Regions from separate parts of the Homo sapiens genome. Here all the other regions are linked to region 2. Evidence: promoter capture Hi-C in 16 types of primary human blood cells and fetal thymus (Javierre and others, 2016). All regions are on one chromosome and are shown on one strand. Each heading gives the region's core, a stretch centred on a gene start or on the middle of the fragment in contact. The rest is flanking DNA. Distances are from core to core; before and after follow the strand shown.

Region 1 (2,700 bases), core at 130-2,629, 2.1 Mb after region 2:
AGGGGTCTCACCAACTTGCCATCGTGCCTCTCAGGCCAGTTGGAATATACGGAGGGTTTGTGGTCTGGGAAACAGCCAAGCAGAGATGTCAACCATACAATGGGATAGAAATCCAGTCTCAACCTTAGGAGGGATCAGGACAGGAGAGAAACTGCAGTGTCAAGCTCAAGTTGAACTCAGCATACAGACAGTGTTTAAAGCCGTGTCATCAGAGATGGCCCCAGGAGTCTGTGTAGAGCAAAGAGGACCCCAGACCAAGTTCGAGGAGCAATGCCATTTGAAGACTGGGAAGAGAAATCAGTGAAGGAGATGGAGAAGGCCAGGCTGAAGAGCGAGAGAAACTCAGGGTGTGATATCATGAAAGTCATGGGAACGGAGGTGTTTTTAACCATGTCTCACTGCCACCCGAGGTACACTACACAGGTGCTCCATGAGATTTATGGAAACTTTGTACATTTACACATTTCACATGGCTGATTCCATTCTAAAAGAAATTCAGACCAGACATGAATTAATCAACTAACCACTATATTCCTTAAACGGACTTCCAAGGACCTCACGATCATTTCATTAAAATGCTAAATCCTTTAGATGATAATTGTCTTTCTAGGTCTTTACTTAATTGATTTAGCAGACAGGATATTGTAGAGAAGCAATGAAACAGACAAGATCCCAACCCATGTGAGACACCAAACACAGCCCAAGGAGCATACACCAGGGAGGAATAGCTATGGGACTCCAAATGATTCTAACTTCAGGTGGTGAGGAAATCAATGAGTTATTCCAACTGCATAATGATTTACAGACAGGACATGAAAATATCCAGTGTTTCTGCAGTGCTATTAAGAATATACCTTGTTGGTATCAGCGACACTGTTTTGTCGAGCATCAAAGATGATAAGCTTGTGTGACTGTGCGTTAGCATCCATTATTGTTTGCAAGTATTTTTCATCCTCTTTGCAGCGCTTATCATTGGGACCCACAAGTGGCTGGCTGCAACGGGTAATCGTTGCTTGACTTTCCGGATGAATCCATGACAACACCTAGTGTTTTTAAGCAATAAATATTAGTACAGTTCCTAAAGAATGTATGCTCTAATTACCTGGTAGGAAAAACAAGTTCCCTTCTCAAGCACGGTCTCTTATACATATTTTCTTCAAAAGTGAGAGTGGGCAGGCCAATCACAGCATTGTAGTGGCCATCAGACTCAATGTTTTGGTCAGGATGAAACAATTCTGACTACATGAGCTCTAAAAATCCCCTTCCATCCCCAATATTCTATGATTCTAAGAAAAACAAATCCTAAATCAAACTATTACTAAAATCTAGCCCCATTCCAATTTGATTGACTAATTTTACCTTGTCTCCTAATTTTAAAAACATCTTTGTATCTCAACAATAATATACGTGGCAGGGTAAGGACAAAGTGAATATACAGTCTCTTATAAAATCTGACACTCTGCCACCCCACCTCTCATTTTCCTCCAGTGGCCAAGTGACTCAGGATTACAACAGATGCAAACTCTGGGCTCAAACCATTACTCCCAGCTGTCTGCTACTACTTCTGTAATGATGTCCCTCCCACGCAGCTATGGCATCATGCTCAGTATCTAAGAAAGAAGCATTTTCTCTAGGATGATTCAGTGAAACCAGCAATGCCAACTGGTAATACAATAGCATGATAACTTGTTGTTGCTACTCCTTTGTCATTCTCTACTACTTTTTGAGGGTATGACTGAAGTTCCCCTTATACTTAGTTATAGGAAATCGTAAAAGAGGGAGTCATAGCAAACAGATTGTTTATATAATTAGGTATTTGTTGAGAATCAAAGGTATGTTCAGGTTTATAAGCTTATTTTTCTGCTTTCCATTTTTGTTCACTAGTTTCTTTTTTGTCTTAAATCTCTCCATATTAGATCTAACGCAATATATATTCCTATATAAATGACAATGTTTATTACTTACAGGGACTCTGCCTTTTGCTCGAAAAGCTGCCACTTTTGAAAGGTCATCATCTTTTACACTAGTTGGCACAACAATGATGGCAGGGTAGGTGTCACAGAACTCATAATTACTGTTTATTTTGGATATTTTCCAACTCTCATTTGGCAAGCCCTGTAAGGTGTTGGAGAAAGAAGAAGAGGGTGAAATGCATGACTTTACACTTTGAAAAAGTACTAAGCATGAAGTACATCCATTTCTTATTTGCAACTAAAATCCGTTTATAATTTATTGTTTATTGTAACTTAAAAGTCAATATATATATTTATTCGGTAAAACCCATTTCCTAGACATTTCTAAAAATCTAAAGAAGCATAAGAATATCCAAACCATACTAAAACATGAAAATTATACGCTAGAATCACATTTCTATATATTTCTTGTCCTATTTTCTATAAATAATGAGCTCTGTTATTTTTGAGAATATACTCAAAAGTCCTTTAGAAACACAGATACCTCTTACGAATGTCTAAAATAAGTAACGTAAAACATTATACCAAATATAAGGTAGAGACAACGTCATGAAACAAACGTCATGAAAATAAGATCTTAGTGGAATAATTTGAAGCTGACAATGCACTGAAGAGTTCCCAGACCCGGGAACACTGGATCAGACAGATGTAGTCACACCACATGCTTCGAATCTAACTGTAGTCAGTGGTTTGGATCCTTACTCATCAATTCTTTACCAGAACATCT
Region 2 (2,809 bases), core at 204-2,703:
AAATAGGGTGCCTAAGAGGAGGCAGGCGGAGAGGACAACTGAGACAAAGATGAGAGGCAGGAGTGTGGCTGGCACATGAGGTTCAACCACAAAGCCAGTGTTCTGGGGCTGGAGTGAGCCAGACGAGAGAAGAGTTGTGGAGCGATGGAAGGGGACACGTCGTGCCAAGCTTTGGAGATCACAGTGAGAACTCTGGCTCGTACTACTTGGGGGGATGATGATGACCCAAAAGTCAGGAATCTGTTCACTGCTGAAGAGAGAAGAGGGCAAAGGGCAGCAGCTCCATTTAAAAGGTTCTAATAAGCCTCGGGCCTTTCTCTGTCTGAGAAACTTACTCTCTGCCCTCTGTCTCCCTAGATTACTGCCCCTATGCCTGGAGGAAAAACAGGTGAAGGCTAAAAGCCACGGGGATAGCTAAAGAGGGCAAACTGGACCTCCAGCTCCACTTCTGCAGGTCTATGTCAGTCCACAGCCCTTGCACACGCTCCCTTTTAATTCTCCAAGCATACCTCTCACTTCCAAAACTCCTGTGACTCTGCTGATGAGGGCGTCTCGGCCTGGAATGCTCCTCCTTATCTGCATTGTGTGGGTGTCAAAAAGAGTATATTTTGATGACCTCTCCCCGCCCCTCATGCTCGCTCACATCCCCCTCACTCCTTTCAAAGTCCGTTCCCAAAGGCCCCAGTTCACCGTCCTGGGCTGCTTTTAGCCAGGTAAGATCTAAAGTGATCCTCTCTTGGAACCTGGTCTGGGGCCTATACATCTGGGTCAGTCTAGGGGTGCTCTCGAAGGGCCACCCTCAAAGAGCGAGCCTCGGCTGGATTCAGTTCCTAGGTCCCAGCCGTCCGACCTCTGCGACAACACTCAGCACACCCCTTCCCCTCTCCGGGTCTCAGTTGCCCCGTGAGTACAGTCCCTGCTCCAACACGCAAGGTAATCGTTTCTGGCTGCTCTGATGCACTCGGTCCCTAAACTCAGCCTTAGGTCAACCCAGAAAGCACCCGACCCGGGCGACCCCGTAGCTCCCCACCCTCCCGCACTGCCCAGTCGCTGACACAGGGTGACCTCCAATGGCAAGGCCACGACTCTTACCCGTCCGTAGGCGCCCCCCTGTCTGGCCTCAGCTCGCAAGCAGGCTGCACCCACTGAACTCCAGGCCCGGACCGCCACCCTTTACTCCCCTCCCGCGTGAGCCGAGAATCAGCCGAGCTTCCTCCACCAAGAGGATTGGCCCAGCTCGGCGACGACTCAGCCAATTGGCGCTCACGGCGTGATCTTGCCCAATAAAGACGGGGCTCTGTCGCCAGCGTGCCCCTCCCCGCGCTGGGCCGGGGCTTTGCCAGGTTAGTCCCACCCTCTTCGGCCCTGCACCAATAGGGAGAGGCGGCGACGAGCGGACGGCCAATGGGGAGCGGGGCTGCGCGCGCGGGGCGGTGGGAACGGCGCCGAGTCAGTGTACACGTCGGTTGCCTAACAACCGGCAGCGGACTCCTTTGGCTATGGTGAGTGCTGCCGCTCTGTCGCGCCCCACGCCCAGCGGCTGAGCCCTTCCCAGGCCCCAGCTCGGCCACGCCGCCTCTCCTGCGCCTTTCTCGGCTTTAGCGCACCAGTCTTTCCTTTGAGCTCTTTCCCGGGAGAGTAGGGTACAGACGCTAACCAACCTACTGGGCCTGCGCTTCGCTGCTGCCTCCTCTTCACCCACAACAGGCCCACACCCGCCCCTCGGGCTCCCCTTGCATTCCCTGATCCCCTCGGTGAACCTCCCTGGGCAAAAAAGACTCGAATCCCTCACAGGCCCCTGACTCTCTCAGACCTTGGCCCCCTGGCCTCCTCATTCTGCCAAAATTTCCACACACAGCTGGGAAAAGGTGTATCGTGTTCTGTTACAATGTTTTTTACAATTTAAATACAGGGGCATTCAGGGGATGCTTTAGCTTCTTGGAGAAGGCACGAAGGTGCCAGATGGATTGAGTTTTATTACTCGGTACTGACACAATATACATCTTAACAACTTACTAATATTTGGCCAAATCTAGAAGTAATTGGGAAGTCGGAGTACTTACTGGGAAGGGGAGTACTGGGAGTGGGCATCGTAAGACTGTTTTCAGAACCAGGATCCCCACGTTCGGGAAGAGCTGATTATCTCTAGTTATTCACAGTCATCTTCTTGACTGGCTCTCTTTTGGGATGATTTTCAGTAAGAGGTGTCCTTACTGAACAAGTGATCTCCCTGCTTCTAGAAACAACAGTAAAGAAAAGGGAGGGGTAGAAGTTCATGGAAAGATTCATTGTTCTTGCCAGTAAACCCTGTTATCTTTCTTTTTAAGCAAAGCTTTGGAATTGGTTATATAAATGACTTTAAAAATACATATGGGTGTCTGTAACTATGTTATGTAAATATGGACTGTATGATATATTATTGTGCTTGTGTATTGCATAACATATAAAGGCCTCCAACTTTAAGAAGGCAAACATGGCATCAAGTTCTCAGCGAAAAAGAATGAGCCCTAAGCCTGAGCTTACTGAAGAGCAAAAGCAGGAGATCCGGGAAGCTTTTGATCTTTTCGATGCGGATGGAACTGGCACCATAGATGTTAAAGAACTGAAGGCAAGCTCTGTGCATTCCTGCCGTACTGCCCTTCCTTTCCTCTGCCTCTTCCTTGTCATCTCCCTATCACCTCTCTACCCCTTTTGCCCTCTTCTCCCTGCAGTAAGTAACAGGGGAGGTTGTACTGTGCTGTTTTCCTGTCTTTACTTACTTTGAGTATTATTCAATAAAATTGATTGCAAATATCAATTAGATCAATGT
Region 3 (2,700 bases), core at 68-2,567, 2.1 Mb after region 2:
AGGAGTTTGAGACTAGCCTGGGCAACACAGTGAGACTTTGTCTCTACAAAAAAAATAAATTTAAAGATTAGCCAAGTATAGTCCCAGCTCCTCAGGAGGCTGAGGTGGCAGAATTGCTTGAGGCCAGGAGTTTGAGGCTGTAGTGAGCTATGATTGTGCCGCTGTACTCCAGCCTGGGCAATAGAGCAAGACCCTGCCTCTAAAAGAAAATAGAGCTTTTGTGACTCCTTTTTTTTTTTTTTTTTTTGAGATGGAGTCTCACTCTGTCACCCAGGCTGGAGTGCAGTGGCATGATCTCAGCTCACTGCAATGTCTGCCTCCCGGGTTCAAGCAATTTTCCTGCCTCAGCCTCCCGAGTAGCTGGGGACTACAGGCGCACGCCACCATGCCCGGCTAATTTTTGTATTTTTTGGCGGAGATGGGGATTCACTGTGTTGCCCAGGCTGGTTTCGAACTCTTGACCTCAAGTGATCCTCCCACCTCGGCCTCCCAGAGTGCTGGGATTACAGGCATGAGCCACCTCACCTGGCTGTGACTCTTAATATTGAGAAATGAGAATAGATTTTACAGTTAAGGTTCCTTGTGCTGGAAAATCATAGCTATCTGGAGGACAATGTGCTGTGGTGCAGGCTGGAGAAGCTCTATAAAGACAAGTAAATATATCACTAAGTTATCTCTTCTTCCCCTAATTTTGTAGTACACTATTCAGAAACACTGTACCTACTTGCATTGCTCATCTGAACAAAAACACCCAAATGTGCAGGCATGGTGAGGCAGGTAAACGTTAAACAATGGATCAAGCACAATGACAAAGTCAAATGAGAAAACGGCAAGGCCAACAGCATTTTCTCCCACTCTGCTGCTGACTTCCCATGAGCTATCTAAATACAGGAACATTCAATTAGGACCATTTCAATTTGTATACATTTATTTATTTATAAGAGAAACACCAACAAAAATTCAAAGGATCTGGAATAGCTAAAATAATCCTGAAAAAGAACAAAGTAGGAGGACTCATACTTCCCATTTTCAAAACTTACCACAAAGCTACAGTAATCAATGCCAGCAGTGCTGGCGTAAGGACAGACATGCAGATCAATGGAACAGAATAGAAAGCACAGAAATGAACTCTCTGACATTTACGGTCAACTGATCTTCAACAAGGTTGGCAAGAAAATTGAATGAGGGAAAGAAAATCTTTCCAACAAATGGTGCTGGGACAGCTAGATAGCCAACACACAAAAGAATGAAGTTGGATCCTTAATTCACACCGTATACAAACGTTACCTCAGAACAGATCACAGACCTAAATGTAAGACCTAAAAGTATAAAGCTCTTAGAAGAAAACAGGAGCAAATCTTCATGACTTTGGGTTAAGCAATGGTTTCTTAGATATGATACCAAAAGTGTAAGCAGCAAGAGAAAAAATAGATAAATTGCAGTTCATCAAAATTAAAAACTTTTGTGCTTCAAAGAACACCATGAAGAAAGTAAAAAAAAACAACCCCTAGAGTGGGAGAAAATTTTTGCAAATCATGTATCTTATAAGGGACTTGAATATATAAAGAATGTATAAGGAACTCTTACAACTCCATAATAAAAAGGACAAACACCACAATTTTAAAATGAACTAAGGAGCTGAATACACATTCTCCACAGAAGATATGCAAATGGCCAATAAGCACATGGAAATATGCTCAACATCATTAGTCGTTGGGGAAATGCAAATCTAAAACCACAACATACCACTTCCCACTCACTAGGATGGCTATAATTTTTTTAAAAAGGAAAATAGTAAGCGTTGGTGAAATGTGGAGAAATTGGAAGCCTCAGACATTGCTCGTGTGTGCAACTGCTTTGGAAAACAATCTGGCAGTTCCTCAATAGGTTAAACATAATTGCCACATGACCCGGCAATTCCACTCGTAGGTATAAATGAATGAAGGCGTATGTCCACATAAAAACCTGTACATGAATAGTTATAGTAGCATTATTCCTAAAAACCAAAATGTGGAAACAATCCAAATTTCTATCAACCAATGAATGGATAAACAAAATGTGGTCTATCCATATAACGGAATATTGCTCAGCCATAAAAAGGATGTATTGGTGCATAGATGAACCTTGAAAACATTACGCTAAGCAAAGGAAGACAGTCATATAAGTTCACCTATTGTATAATTCCATTTCTATGAAATGTCCAGAATTGGCAAATCCGTAGAGACAGAAAGCAGATTGATGGTTGCTAGGGGATAGGGGTGGGGGAAATGGGAAGTGATTGCTACCAAGTATGCCATTTCTTTTGGGGGTGACAGAAATTTTATAAACTTAGGCCAGGCACAGTGGCTTACACCTATAATCCCAGCACTTTGGGAGGCCGAGGCGGGAACATCACTTGAGGCCAGGAGTTTGAGACCAGCCTGGGCAACACAGCAAGACCCCAATCGCTACAAAAAATAGAAATAAAGAGATTTTATGAAATTAAATATTGATGATGGCTGCACAATATGTGAATATGCTAGAACCATGAAATTGTACATTTTAGATGGGTGAATTTTATGGTATGTAAATTATGTGTCAAGAGAGCTCATTTTTTTAAGAATGAATTTTGCACTCCCCCTCTCAAAAAAAAAAAAAAAAAAAAAAAACAAGATAAAGCCATGGTTAAAATTCTATATATGAACTTCATTCTTCTGCTTC

Evidence for each region. The method cuts DNA at HindIII sites, captures the fragments that hold promoters and counts their contacts. A CHiCAGO score of 5 or more calls a contact.
Region 1: a contact is called between a fragment that was not itself captured here and the fragment with the promoter of CETN2 in region 2, in 2 of 17 cell types (M0 macrophages and M2 macrophages). The highest score is 6.5, in M0 macrophages.
Region 3: a contact is called between a fragment that was not itself captured here and the fragment with the promoter of CETN2 in region 2, in 1 of 17 cell types (M0 macrophages). The highest score is 5.1, in M0 macrophages.

What each region holds. Positions count from the first base shown.
Region 1 is chrX:150,730,885-150,733,584 of GRCh38, reverse strand. It overlaps MTMR1 (myotubularin related protein 1), which reads right to left. Exons shown (of 16, transcript NM_001306144.3): 9 at 1,966-2,115; 10 at 855-1,043. Among named protein-coding and RNA genes, the nearest start is that of MTMR1, 39 kb to the right of the region's middle. The HindIII fragment of the contact is 949 bases long and covers 905-1,853 here.
Region 2 is chrX:152,829,401-152,832,209 of GRCh38, reverse strand. It overlaps CETN2 (centrin 2), which reads left to right and starts at 1,453. Exons shown (of 5, transcript NM_004344.3): 1 at 1,453-1,502; 2 at 2,450-2,608. The coding sequence starts at 1,500. NSDHL (NAD(P) dependent 3-beta-hydroxysteroid dehydrogenase NSDHL) reads right to left here and starts at 1,147. Exons shown (of 8, transcript NM_015922.3): 1 at 1,093-1,147. RefSeq lists a silencer at 1,214-1,553. The HindIII fragment of the contact is 2,163 bases long and covers 172-2,334 here.
Region 3 is chrX:150,752,573-150,755,272 of GRCh38, reverse strand. The region is part of intron 14 of MTMR1 (myotubularin related protein 1); the gene reads right to left. Among named protein-coding and RNA genes, the nearest start is that of MTMR1, 61 kb to the right of the region's middle. The HindIII fragment of the contact is 6,912 bases long and covers 1-2,700 here.